Regions from separate parts of the Homo sapiens genome. Here all the other regions are linked to region 3. Evidence: promoter capture Hi-C in 16 types of primary human blood cells and fetal thymus (Javierre and others, 2016). All regions are on one chromosome and are shown on one strand. The core of a region is centred on a gene start or on the middle of the fragment in contact, and the rest is flanking DNA. Distances in the headings are between cores, read along the strand shown. Region 1 overlaps RASA1 (RAS p21 protein activator 1). Region 2 overlaps MIR4280HG (MIR4280 host gene). Region 3 holds the start of LINC01949 (long intergenic non-protein coding RNA 1949).

The links. Contacts are between HindIII fragments. The CHiCAGO score rates a contact against its expected background, and 5 or more counts as called.
Region 1: a fragment that was not itself captured here is called in contact with the fragment with the promoter of LINC01949 in region 3 in 2 of 17 cell types (activated CD4 T cells and M0 macrophages); the score reaches 6.6 in activated CD4 T cells.
Region 2: a contact is called between a fragment that was not itself captured here and the fragment with the promoter of LINC01949 in region 3, in 4 of 17 cell types (M0 macrophages, M1 macrophages, M2 macrophages and 1 more). The highest score is 20.7, in M0 macrophages.

What each region holds. Positions count from the first base shown.
Region 1 is chr5:87,367,042-87,371,425 of GRCh38, reverse strand. RASA1 (RAS p21 protein activator 1) reads right to left here. Exons shown (of 25, transcript NM_002890.3): 12 at 1,526-1,613. It also overlaps a transcript of CCNH not described here. Among named protein-coding and RNA genes, the nearest start is that of CCNH, 44 kb to the left of the region's middle. The HindIII fragment of the contact is 443 bases long and covers 1,937-2,379 here.
Region 2 is chr5:87,106,481-87,110,246 of GRCh38, reverse strand. The region is part of intron 1 of MIR4280HG (MIR4280 host gene); the gene reads left to right. Among named protein-coding and RNA genes, the nearest start is that of MIR4280, 6.6 kb to the left of the region's middle. The HindIII fragment of the contact is 623 bases long and covers 1,849-2,471 here.
Region 3 is chr5:87,236,638-87,240,827 of GRCh38, reverse strand. It overlaps LINC01949 (long intergenic non-protein coding RNA 1949), which reads left to right and starts at 1,627. Exons shown (of 3, transcript NR_130914.1): 1 at 1,627-1,762; 2 at 1,847-2,013. All of the region lies in intron 2 of LOC101929380 (a long non-coding RNA gene), which reads right to left. The HindIII fragment of the contact is 4,009 bases long and covers 1-1,869 here.

The DNA.
Region 1 (4,384 bases), core at 909-3,408, 130 kb before region 3:
CTGGAAAGCTGTGTACTATTGCTTTATTCAATTATGTCTTTAGTTTGTTGGCTATTTCAATGAAGCTGAACTTTATTAATATCTAGAGACTGTCTTTATATTACAGCAAATTAAAACCAAATCAGTTACCATAGCTTTTTGAAATAGAAGAGAATAACCAGAGACCCCCACAGCCCAATAAATCAACAAAAACTGGAAATACCATTTATGGAAATACAGAAATATTATGTATAAATACATTAAAAAATGTTCTATGTTAGGCTTGCAAAACATGCTGAAATGTCATTATGGTATGTGACATTTTATTCAGAAAGAGGGACCATGGTAAAATACTTAGAAAATAGGATACTGAAGTTTAAATTTCTAACTCAATTTCTAACATTTAAAAAAATCATGTAAGTTACCAAAATGTTTTGAGCACTACCTTTCTCATCTAAAAATTAGGGATACATAGCCGTAAAATTTTATGTGCATTACATGTGAAATGAGCATTAAATGAGATATTTGATAAAGATGTGAAATATGACGTTCAGTTGTAAGCTCATTCAGGTTTATTCTGTGAGTCTCACGCTAGGATCTAGTTTTAAGAGCATCTTCCTCATATCTAGGGTTGGCAAATTATATTTCCAACAAAGCCACTTTCACTTCTTAACCACCTTTAAGTTCCTTCGTTAGAATATAAGCAGAAATTTAGCTGTATTTGTATAAAATACAACCATATACTCCAGAAATATTAGGGTTCAAAGAAAGCAAAAAAATTTTTTAAGAGACAGTGTCTCAGTTTGTTGCCTAGGCTGGCTTACAGTGTCTCGATCTTACTCACTGTAACTCAAACTCCTGTGCTAATGCAATCTTCCTGCCTCATTCTACCCAGTGGCTGGGACTACAGGCATAAGCCAGAACACCTAGCTAATTTTTTACTTTTGTTATAGAGGTGGGTTCTCCCTTTGTTGCAAAATATTTTTTAAAGAGTGTTTTTTAAAAAATATTATTTCTTCACACAATTACTTAATAGACGCTATAAGAAGGACACTGCACATGGATTAATAGCTAATCTAAAGTAGACATTATATCTCGACTTGGCTTAGAGAATAGATTCCTAAAATATCTTTCCTTGTGTTGACTGACTTTTATTTTCAGACATGGAGTTCAACCAGTGAAGAATAATGCTTGTTAGCAAAACTAACTGGTTAACTGGCTTACCTTTGGATTATACTGAGATGACCTATAACCTTTATGCAGAGAGGATTTTAAATGAGCATTCTCAGTTGGCCTCAACATCATAGAGTATTTAAAGGTCAATTTAAAATGGAGTTTTCATTCCTAATAACCCTTCACTGTGTTTGTTTTTGCATTTCTTTCAGAAAACTTTTTACATATGAAATCTCATTCCTTAAAATAAGAGATGATTAGATTTCAGGCGTTCTGTCACTTTATCTTGAATGCGATCATTTTCTATTCCAGTTAATAAGAAAACATGGGCTAACATAAAAGTATACTGTAGTTTGAGAAACAGTAATCTTACCTCTGCTTGTTCTGGAGTTTCTCCTGCAAAGTAAAAGATGTAATGTTCTTCACTAAAGTGCTGAACTACTATCTGAAAACAGTTTGGCCTTTAAAATAAAAACAAAAATTATTAGGAAGCTTAATAAAAAGTAGCAAAATATTTATACCAGCTTCCAAAACACTCACAATAAATAATTAACATAAAATTATAATTCTTAAAGAAATAATACTCCATTGTACCAGATCATTACTAAAAAAAAGTCAGCTATATATATTTTAGAAAACTTTATGTCAGCACTATTAAAATGTTATCAGTATTTCAAAGTGTAAACTAAAGAAATTTCAATTAATTGTAAAATACATTAGAAATAAAGTTACAAACAGATTGAAGCTGAACTGCTAGAACTGCACACAGCTAATTTGAAAAGCTTTATATGCACTGGAAAAAGACTAGAAATGTTCTTAGACCAAAAATGTTCTAAGTAATTATCTCTAAGGAGATTGTAGGTGATTCTGTATTTTCAAATTTTTCTAAACTGATCATTTTTCTTCACCTGTTAAAATGGAAACATCATCTCTTCATACATATGCTTGTTCTAGAGTTTAAGTGAACAGTTGTGTACAACAAATGTTCTTGTCTTCCTTTAGTATTATTTCAAATCATTTGATATGTAAGTACAATATTAGGTAATAATTTATATCATTTTGGAAATGTGCTATCTTTCCAACTAGACTTGAAAATATTGGTAAAATCTTTATTAAGGGCCTGCATGTTTTTGGAACTCAATAAATGTTACTTCTGTTTCCTGCTTTAAAGATTTTATATCATGCTAATGTTAGGAGGCCATAGCAAAAATACACAGAGGACAAGCTTAACACTTATTAAAGATAAAGACTATATTTTCATGCTTTGAGAATGTCTTAAAAGTAATCATGGAAAATAGGAATTGGAAACTTCTAATCCTAAATGTTGCCTGTATCAGACTAACCACCCTAGTTGGATAAAACTTAAAATAGTAATACAAAACAGAAAAACAACTGTTTGAAAGCACTGGAGAACAACCAAAGCAGCTAAGATTTGAGGAGCCAAGATCATACTATAATTAACCCGACATTCTCCACATCTTTTCCGTTCAAGGCAGTTGCCAGTTCCTAAGCTGGCTGTGTAGCTGAGACGCTAAGCAGAAAATAGTTCCTAAAAGGCTAAAAAATTAACTACAAATCCAGTAGTTTGATAGTGCTAGGAGAAAAAAGAATGAATTTCAGGCTTTCCATTGAGACCCCTGAAGGGCTGTGCCTTCATGATAAGGGCAAACCAGAAATAGAACAGCCTTTACAAGATGTACTAACCCTATACCATCCGTAAGAACAATTCTTTCTGGACGCAATAACATTAGTTTCCATAGTTTTTCATGTACAATGTCTACCACTTAGTCAAACTAAGTAGACACTACAGGCATCAGGATTAAATGGCTAAAAGTTAAGATGAAAAACCAGAAAGACATACATATAATGCAGATACTGAAGACAGACAAGACTTTCAAGTAATTATAATTAAAATGTTTAAGAAAATAGGTAACAAGAATTTTGCCAGAAACTGTATCTTTAAAAAAATGGAAATTCTAAATTGAAAAAAATGTAATAAAATGAAGTCCTGAAAAAGTGGATTTAACTGCAGAATGGAAGATTAGTGAACTGAAAGATCAGAAGAAAATATATAGGTTGGTACAGAGGAAAAAGGATGAAAAACAGAAAACAGCATGGGAAATAGTGCAACTTTTTTTTTAACCAGACTCCAAGAAGAAAAAGGAATGTGGCAGAACAACTGTTTAAATTAGATACTAAACATTTAAACAGATACTAACCAAGAGTTTTCTAAAACTGACAAAGAACATCAGGTCTCAGATTGATGAAGCACTACAAACCTAAGGATAATTTTTTTTTTAATTTATAGTTGGTACATTTTAGTTTTCCCACTAAAAATATAAGGAAAAATCTCAAAGCATCCAGAGAAAGTTGTGTGAGATACATTACCTCTAAGAGAAAAGACAAAGATACATTACCTCTAAAACAGAAACAATTTGAATGACAACGAAAATGTTGGAAGGCAGAAAACCATCTTTAAAATGGCAAAATAACTGCCAATCTTGAATTTAATATCCAGCAAAACATTTTCATAAATAAATGTAAAGCAATAAATACCACAGTGAGATCCAGCTATGAAAAGATGGTGTAAAAATTAATTACCACATGGATAGTCACTAGAATAACTTTGTGTCACTAAGACATCTTTCTAAGTAATGCAGTATTAAAAGTTAGAAGTTTAATACAAGGAAATGGAGTGCTTAGAGATCTCTTAATATTGAAAATAATCTGGAAAAATTGCACAGCTGTGCAACTAAAGCCATGCAAGAAAACAGCATTGCCATCCAACATTCGTTCAGCATCAGGCTGAGCATGCGCACTAATCACCTACTGCACAAGGTGGCTGTTAACTTTCACATTAGTCTTCTTCTAAATGCTAAAGGTCAGCATATCAGGTTCTATGTGTACACAAAGCAGGAAATGTTCAATGCCTGGCATTAATTTGATAATAAAGAAAAAGATATTAACATTCATTTATAATTTCCCCTTTTGTCCTCTGGTATTTGCATCCTATGGTAATACATAATTTATCAACCTATTTTTCTACTTGTCCTATTATATGGTACAGATGTCTTCTCATTTCCTTGAAATGTACTTTGTTAATGCTATTTGCCTTGGCATTCAGTCTTTCTCACTAAGTGCTTCTCTATTTCACAGGAAGGCACTTTAAAAAAAATAGTTAATAATAAAGTAGCATACTTTGAAAAAAAAATTTTTGTTGTTGTTTTTGGTT
Region 2 (3,766 bases), core at 911-3,410, 130 kb after region 3:
CCCTTTCATTGCGGTGAGTTGAGGTCCTCACTAGGCAGCACAATTCTCAAACTTTACCTTCCTATTAAAATCACCTGAAGGACGTATTAAACACAGGTTGCTGGGCTCCAACCTCTGAGTTTCTTACTCATAGTTGCTATGAACTGAACTGTGCCACCCACATATATATGTTGAAGTTCTAACCCCCGGTGCCTTAGAATGTATTTGGAGATAGGGCCTTTAAAGAGTAAGGTTAAATGAGGTTACAAGGGTGGTGCCCTAATCCTACATAACTGATGTCCTTATAAGAAGAGGAAGAGACACCACTAGATACATGCACACAGGGCAAAGGCCATGGGAGGACACAGCAGGGCAGAGACTCATCATCTGCAAGCCAAGGAGAAGTCGAATTTGCTGACACTTGATCTTGGGCTTTTAGCTTCCATAATTGTGAGACAATAAATTTATATTGTTTAAGCCAGCCAGTCTGTTGTATTTTGTTATGGCAACCTTAGCAGACTTATACAGTTGGATTGGGGTGGGCTCATGAATTTTCCTTTCTAACAAGTCCCCAGATGATGCTGATATGGCTGGTCTGGGGAGCACCCTTTGTGAATTACTGGGCTGGGAAATCTTCGTCAGGCCCACTTTGTTTTGTTTTGCGCATGTATATGACAGAATCAGTTTTTTCTCAAAAGTCTATAGACACTTTGTTTCATCCGAAGACCCTTGATGATCAGGAGGTAGGATTTTTATCCTTACGTTGAACTACTCAAAGTTAAAAAAGGCTCGGTTATGCTAGTGTCCATGACAGGGGGTGCATATTCACCTTACATCTGGTAACTAAAAGGCACATTGGAATAACTGCTTCTTGTTTCCACATACACAGAGAAGTTCTGGAAGTAGATTTTCCTATATTTTTTTCTTTAAAGTTATATCTTACCAGCAACTACTTTATATTAAAATACGGGATAACAGAACTGAGATACAAAAAAGAAAAATAAATCTCAATAATCTGACAGTAAGTACAATTCAGTGTAATTCAACAAATTGAATTGCTAGCAGATAATAATAACTGAGTTAACATGTTTCCTCTTCCATTTTATATTGGCATCTTACACTAGACTCCAATGTGTTAAAATACAACAAACTTTATGAATCTTAAGAATCACATGATGTCTTTGTTAAAAATACGGAGTCCTGAGCTACATTCCTACAGATTTTGATTCATTAGTTTGAGTGAATTTGGGAATCTTTATTTGTTATAAGGGCTTTTGGAGATTCTAATGCCGGTGGTCTGAATACCACCACTACATGAGAAACATGGACTTTGAGGAATAAGTAATGTGGGGATATTAATTTTTTGTATAAACAAATCAGCTGGGCATGGTGGTGCCTGCCTGTAGTCCCAGTTACTCAGGAGGCTGAGGTCGGAGGATCGTTTGAGCCCAGGAGTTCGAGGCTGGAGTGCAGTGGTGCAATCACGGCACACTGCAGCCTCAAACTCCTCGGTTCAAGCAATCCTCCCACCTCAGCCTCCTGAGTAGATTTTTTTTCCAAAAAAAAAAAAATAGAGGACATATTAGAAGATGTGGCTTTAAGTCCTACCCACCAATTATGACAATGCTGAACTGGGACAGCCTCCCTAGGTAAGATTTAGGACATGGAAGTGCAGAACATATCTTTGTTCTCTGATTTCTATGCACATGCTTGCTTCTTGGAGTTGAGTATGAACAGTTATTCTTTCAAAATTTACTAATCAGAGAAATATATCCCAAGAGGTGGAGTAGAGTGAGTAGAACATGGAGAGAGGCCAGTACAGGGGATCTCTGGACCTTGAAAAAACCCTCAGTAGTGGGCAGATAAGCTTCATCTTCCACTCCCCTCACCATTTCAAGAAAGTGACCACATTTGCAAAGGTGAACCACCTACTCAGGTTCCCATAGCTGGAAAGTGGTGGAGCCAGGATGGAACCTGGTCCTGAGTACCTCCAGAATCAACACTCCTGACTACTCTGCCAAAGACTTAGCTATATAGATGCAACCTTGTAGTGTGTGTGTGCAAATCCTTATACTGACAATGAGGGAAACTAAGTCCAGGTTAAATGTTTGGACGTCAACCGCGATAATCTGCCATCACGGCAGCCACTTCCTTTGGGTATATTTAATTTTAAGGGAAAAAATATATTTCCTGCTTTTTTGATTCCTGACTCCATTTCATCCTGGTATGCCTGCAGATGCTTCAGAATTACTTGGTATATTCCTGCCCTCAAAGAGTTGTAGTGGTCTTCGGTTTCTCATAAATATAAGACTGCTATATTACTGTGTTAAAACTCAGAGTTACTGGGCTGAATAAGCACAGAAGCACATTGTTTCTCAGCATTTACAGTTCTTTTTAGTTAAATGCTACATTCTTTAGAGTTTTGGGAGAACTCATTCCCTTTAAATCTCACCACAACTGTGAATTTGGAAATTAGATGAAAAAAAAAAGCTTATGAAAGTAAAATTCATATTCACTTCATATTCACACATACACACACACAATGCTAGTAACAACAGATGCCTCTGCTTGCAGTAACAGATTTATCCTAAATCTGGATACAATGAACTCTTTTTATTTCCTCAGATAAGCAGATATTTGACTAGATTTGGTGGAATATTTCTCTCTTGTGAGTTAAAAAAATAATTTTAGCATACAATTATGTAAAATTATGAAAATTAAAATTTTCATCATTGTTTTTAGATAGTGTTTCTATATAGTATTCTCCAGTATCTAGCACAAGACTGGCATATAGACCCATTTATTTGGTTATTCTTTCATTAATCTTGGCTTGGTTCTTCAAAAAATATAATGTTTTAATATTTAGATCACCAAACATTTAGAGAATTTCAGGTTTCAAGACATTCATACATTACTATAGTAAGCATTATTGTTGGATAACTAGCTTACTGATCATACCATAGCTAATAAGAAGAGATTGTCACTTTATCCCCAACTATATGCCGATCAATACGTGATGCTAGACAATGTTTATATGTATGAAAGGCCATGAGAGTAGGGTAAATGAGAAAAAAGTATATAATCTCATAGAAAACACTAGATCTTTGGCATATTTACATATCTTAAAAGTTCTTATTAAGTGAATTTTGGGTATAATTTGCAGAGACATGTTGAAGATAACTGACAATATCCTTTCTATTCTATATGTTATGCTAATTTGCTTCCACATTAAATCACACTGTTTAAAATGATAGCATTTTATATAAGGGTCTTAACAAGTACTTGATTATCGGATTGGTGGTTGTACTGTTTTCCCCCAGTAATAGCCAATACTTCCCTATTACGGAAGAAGCCAGTTAGGCTTTTGTTTTGTTTAGTTTTGCTTTTTCTTTTCCAAATCTGCTCAAAGGTTTAATTTTTAAATGTTTCTACGTCTTTTTCTCAGTGATGTACTATTTTTCAGGAACCATTTCAACTCTTTTAACAATTATACCTTAAGGGAATAAAGTCAGTTTTCTGTTTAAACCTGCTTGCTGAATTTTTTTTTTTTAGATGGAGTTTCACTCTTGTTGCCCAGGCTGGAGTACAATGGTGCGATCTTGGCTCACCGCAAACTCTGCCTCTGGGGTTCAAGCGATTCTCCTACCACAACCTCCTGAGTAGCTGGGATTACAGGCATGTACCACCACGCCCGACTAATTTTTTGTATTTTTAGGAGGGATGGGGTTTGTCTATGTTGTTTAGTCTGGTCTTGACCTCCTGACCTCAGGTGATCTGCCCGCCTCGG
Region 3 (4,190 bases), core at 378-2,877:
CAAATTATTATAAGATAAAATATAAAGTATTTGATAATCATACAAATGCAAAATAATAAGAAATGTTGTATGAAAGTGCTTAGAGAGTCTGCCTTATTGAATATTGTTTGTTTTTGAACTGTGTGTTGGTAGGAGGTACTCCTGACAATTTTCACTTTACAAACATTTATTTCTTGATTTAACCTACCACCAGGATGACGGCTGTCACTCACTGATTCACCAAAAATTGGACAAATTGCTTACTTATTTTTGTTGATTTTTCTTAAATGTATGTATAGCTTACATTTATATCAATATTCAACATTAGAAGTGTTTCAAGTCTTCACTTAGAAATTTGTTGATGTTTTTGTGATACAAATATGCCATAGGAACTAATTCTTGTTTATATTAATTAGCCTATAGTAAAACTGGTTTTGTTACATGGCATCTCACTTGAAGTTGAAGTTTCCAAGACCCTATCAACAACGTTGAGAACTTACTGTCATAGGTTGAAAAACTGTACACCAGGAACCGGACCAAAATAGATCTGACAGTAATATTGATATTAGAAAACAACTTTAAGTCTAATAATGATTTTTCTCTAAAGAGGTTGATTACTTCATGATAGAAGGATCATGTCACCATGATGACACAGACTGTTAGTGCACATCAATATCCATTTTGTCCTCTTCTTTTTTGGCATACAACCAAAACTTACATAGGCTTTTTATCATTTTACTGGGCCTATGTAACTGAGTTTTAGCCAGTGGAATATGTCCAAGTGACATTTGCCACTTCTAGGTCTGGCACATTAACACTTGATGTATTACATTTCAGACCCTCTTATCATTCTGCAGTGTGTTTGGCGATCTGTTGTTTAAGATCTATATGCACTGGTTACTGTTGCTTGCCTTCCATTCCTACCCTTACTAATCAGATTCCTATTATAGCTACTTCTGTCCTTGATTCATTTTGTATATTAGATGTGTGTGTGTTCATGTGCATGCATGCACCCTCACATGTAGGTGTATATGGGAGTGGTGGTAAAGACAGGATATTTCTTCAGTTCATGGGATTTTATTTCAGGAGAATTCAAACATTCACGTATTGGAGAAGATGACACATTTCTTGAATGTCTTGGGCTTTGAGCTGAATGCACTAACTAGAAGGGACTTCAGATTGTCCTCCTTCGGGGGAGGTAAGTATATTCTTCATATACAGGTAAGAGTGAAATGATAGAAGAATGTTCCTCCTCTCCTTTTCTTCCTGGACAACAGATCAAATATTTCTCAGATCTTTTACAGCTGAATTGGAGTCACATGGACAGGTATGATCTTAAAATATAAAAAATTATTTTAAAATTACATGCTAAAATTTTATAAAAATAAATGCTAAAACTAACTTAAACGGAAGCATTTGATTAAAAAATTTATCCAAAAAAGTTTGAATTTTATATGAAACAGGATAGAAGATGAAAAAGCTAAAGAAATAAAATATAAATAAATTATGGCTGGGGACAGTGGCTCACACCTGTAATCCCAGCACTTTGGGAGGCTGAGGTGGGAGGACTGATTGAGGCTAGGAGTTTGAGACCTGTTATTTGAGGCACATGGGAAGGAAAGTTTTCTTTGAGATATTCCACATTTTATAATATTCTTCAAGAGATTTACAGAGTTCCTTGAGTGAATTGTTGGTTTGTTCTTAATACTGAATTTCCTATTCAAATTTATTTAGAAGTTCATTTCTTACAGTGATCTCATCTCCTATTAAGATATTCTTCAAGGTAGGTTCTTGGCCAGTTTCTCAATGACAGATTTTTAAAAATATTGTTAATCTTTTTATTAATATGAGAACATAATTGTTCCAGATCTGGAGGCCATCCTTTAAGCTTCTTGCAACAGTCTGGGAGCAAAGAGTTTACTCGCCACTGGGTAGTGGGCCATGGACACCCCAGTCTCCACCAGAAGTTCGGGATTGCAAAATGGGACTCTGGCAGCAAATTTCAAACTGTATGCCAGACCTGGCCCTTTGCAGGTGGGCATCACTAAAAATTTAAATTACCAAAATTGACTCAAGAGTAAATCTATGTCTGAGGAGAAAGCCTTTGGAAAAATTGAATTAGTAAGCAAAAACCTACCCAAAATAAATAACAGTAAGTCTAGAAAATTTTACACAGGGATTACCAACAAACATTCAAAGCACAGAAAAATCTCTTTAGCACAAAATGCTACAAAATACAGAAAAAGAGGAAAATTCTGTAGTTTCTCTCATGAAGTTAATATATTCTAGTTAGCTGAACTAGAAAAATAAGAGAAAGAAAAATTATAGGTTAATCTTCCTTATGAGTACATGCAAGTATCATAAGATGTTGACAAATTGAATCAAGCATTTTAAAAAATGCATTATGATCAAATATGATTTATCCTAGAAATAATGTATGAGAGTTATAAAATTCCCATTAACATTAGGAACAAGCATTAATACTTATTATCTCCACCAATAATCATCATTGCTCTGGAGTTCCTAACCAATGAAATAAGAAAGAAATAACCAGTTATATGGATTAGGGAAGATCAAATATTGATTATTTGAATATTTTTTTTTATAGAAAATCCAATAATTGTACAGCTGAAGAACTGGAATAGGAGAGTTAAGCAAAGTTTCTACATACAAGAGCAAAGTGGTCAAATCAATAGGTTATCTGTAGGCCAGTGCTAATTACATTGACATGGTGGCCTTAAAATTTTTACATGCAATTCATAAATCAGTTTCACTGATATTACTTTACCAGATATTGATATTCTAATGTTGTAATTATACAACTGTATTATTGTGTCAGAAATAAAATTAATAGACCAACAAAACAAAACTCAGAACAGATTCACATATTTGATAACTTGGTGTATGACAAGTGTGACATTAAAATTCAGGAGTAAAATAAAAAAATAACAAATAATGCCGGGATAATTGGTTAGTCACATGGGAAAAAGTCAGAAAGATCTCTGCCTCACTCTATTTACATGGAATATACTTCAGATGAAAGAAACTTAAATACAAAGAGCAAAACTTTAAGACTTTTAGAAAAAGATAGGAGAATTTATGACTTCCAGTAAGGAAAGCTTTCTTAAGCTAGATGCAATGGCATAAACGACAAAATGCATTTTTTTTATAACATTAAATAAAACATGTGTTCCGTAAAAGACACCAAAATACAATTAAGAGATAAGTTACAGTGTCTTAGTCCATTCTGGCTGTATAAAAAAATACCATAGACTGAGTGGCTTAAACAACATTTATTTCTCATAGTTTCTGGAGGCTGAGCAGTCCCAGTCAAAGAGAGCCCACTTTCTAGTTTATAGACCACCATCTTCTCACTATGTCCTCACATGGCAGAAAAACAAGATGGCTCTCTGGAGTACTTTTTACAAGAGCACTAATCCTATTTATGAGGGATTCACCCTCATGATATAATCACTTTCCAATGGCCTCAGATCCAAATACTATCACTTTGGAAGGCAGGATGGGGGTGGGAGGATTGGATTTCAACATAGGAGTTTTTTGGGGACACAAACATTCAGTCCATAGCACACAGACTGGGAGAAAATATCTGTGATGCATACATCTTACAAAATAATTCATATCTAGACTATAAAGAGCTCCTCAGGTAGATAAGAAATATCAAAAGAGAACAAAAACATAAACATAGTTCACAGAAGAGGAGACTCAGATGGCCATAAATATATGGAAAAAATGCTTAACCATTTATCATGAAAATGTGAATGTGAACCAGAGTTTACCTATAACATACAACAAACTTCCAAAATGACTGAAAAACAAAACCTTATATTAGCAAGTAAAACACATACAAACACAAACACACACACTTCTACAGGAGCAGGAATTTATACAACCACTGTGGCAGTCACTATTGGTTACCCATAACATATCTATCCACATTTCTTCTTAAAGAGCAGAAGCACAATTTTATAAGTATGTGATTTCTAGGTTCTCTATGTCTATGCGTCTATTTTTATGCAATATCATGCCATGTAGTTACCATAGCTTTGTCGTATATTTTGAAGTCAGGTAGTGTGATGCTGCCAGCTTTGTTTTTGTTTGTTTGTTTGTTTTTGTTTTTGCTTAGGATTGCTTTGGCTGTTTGGATTTTAGGGTTTTTTTTCTATTTTTGTGAAGAATGTTATTGGTATTTT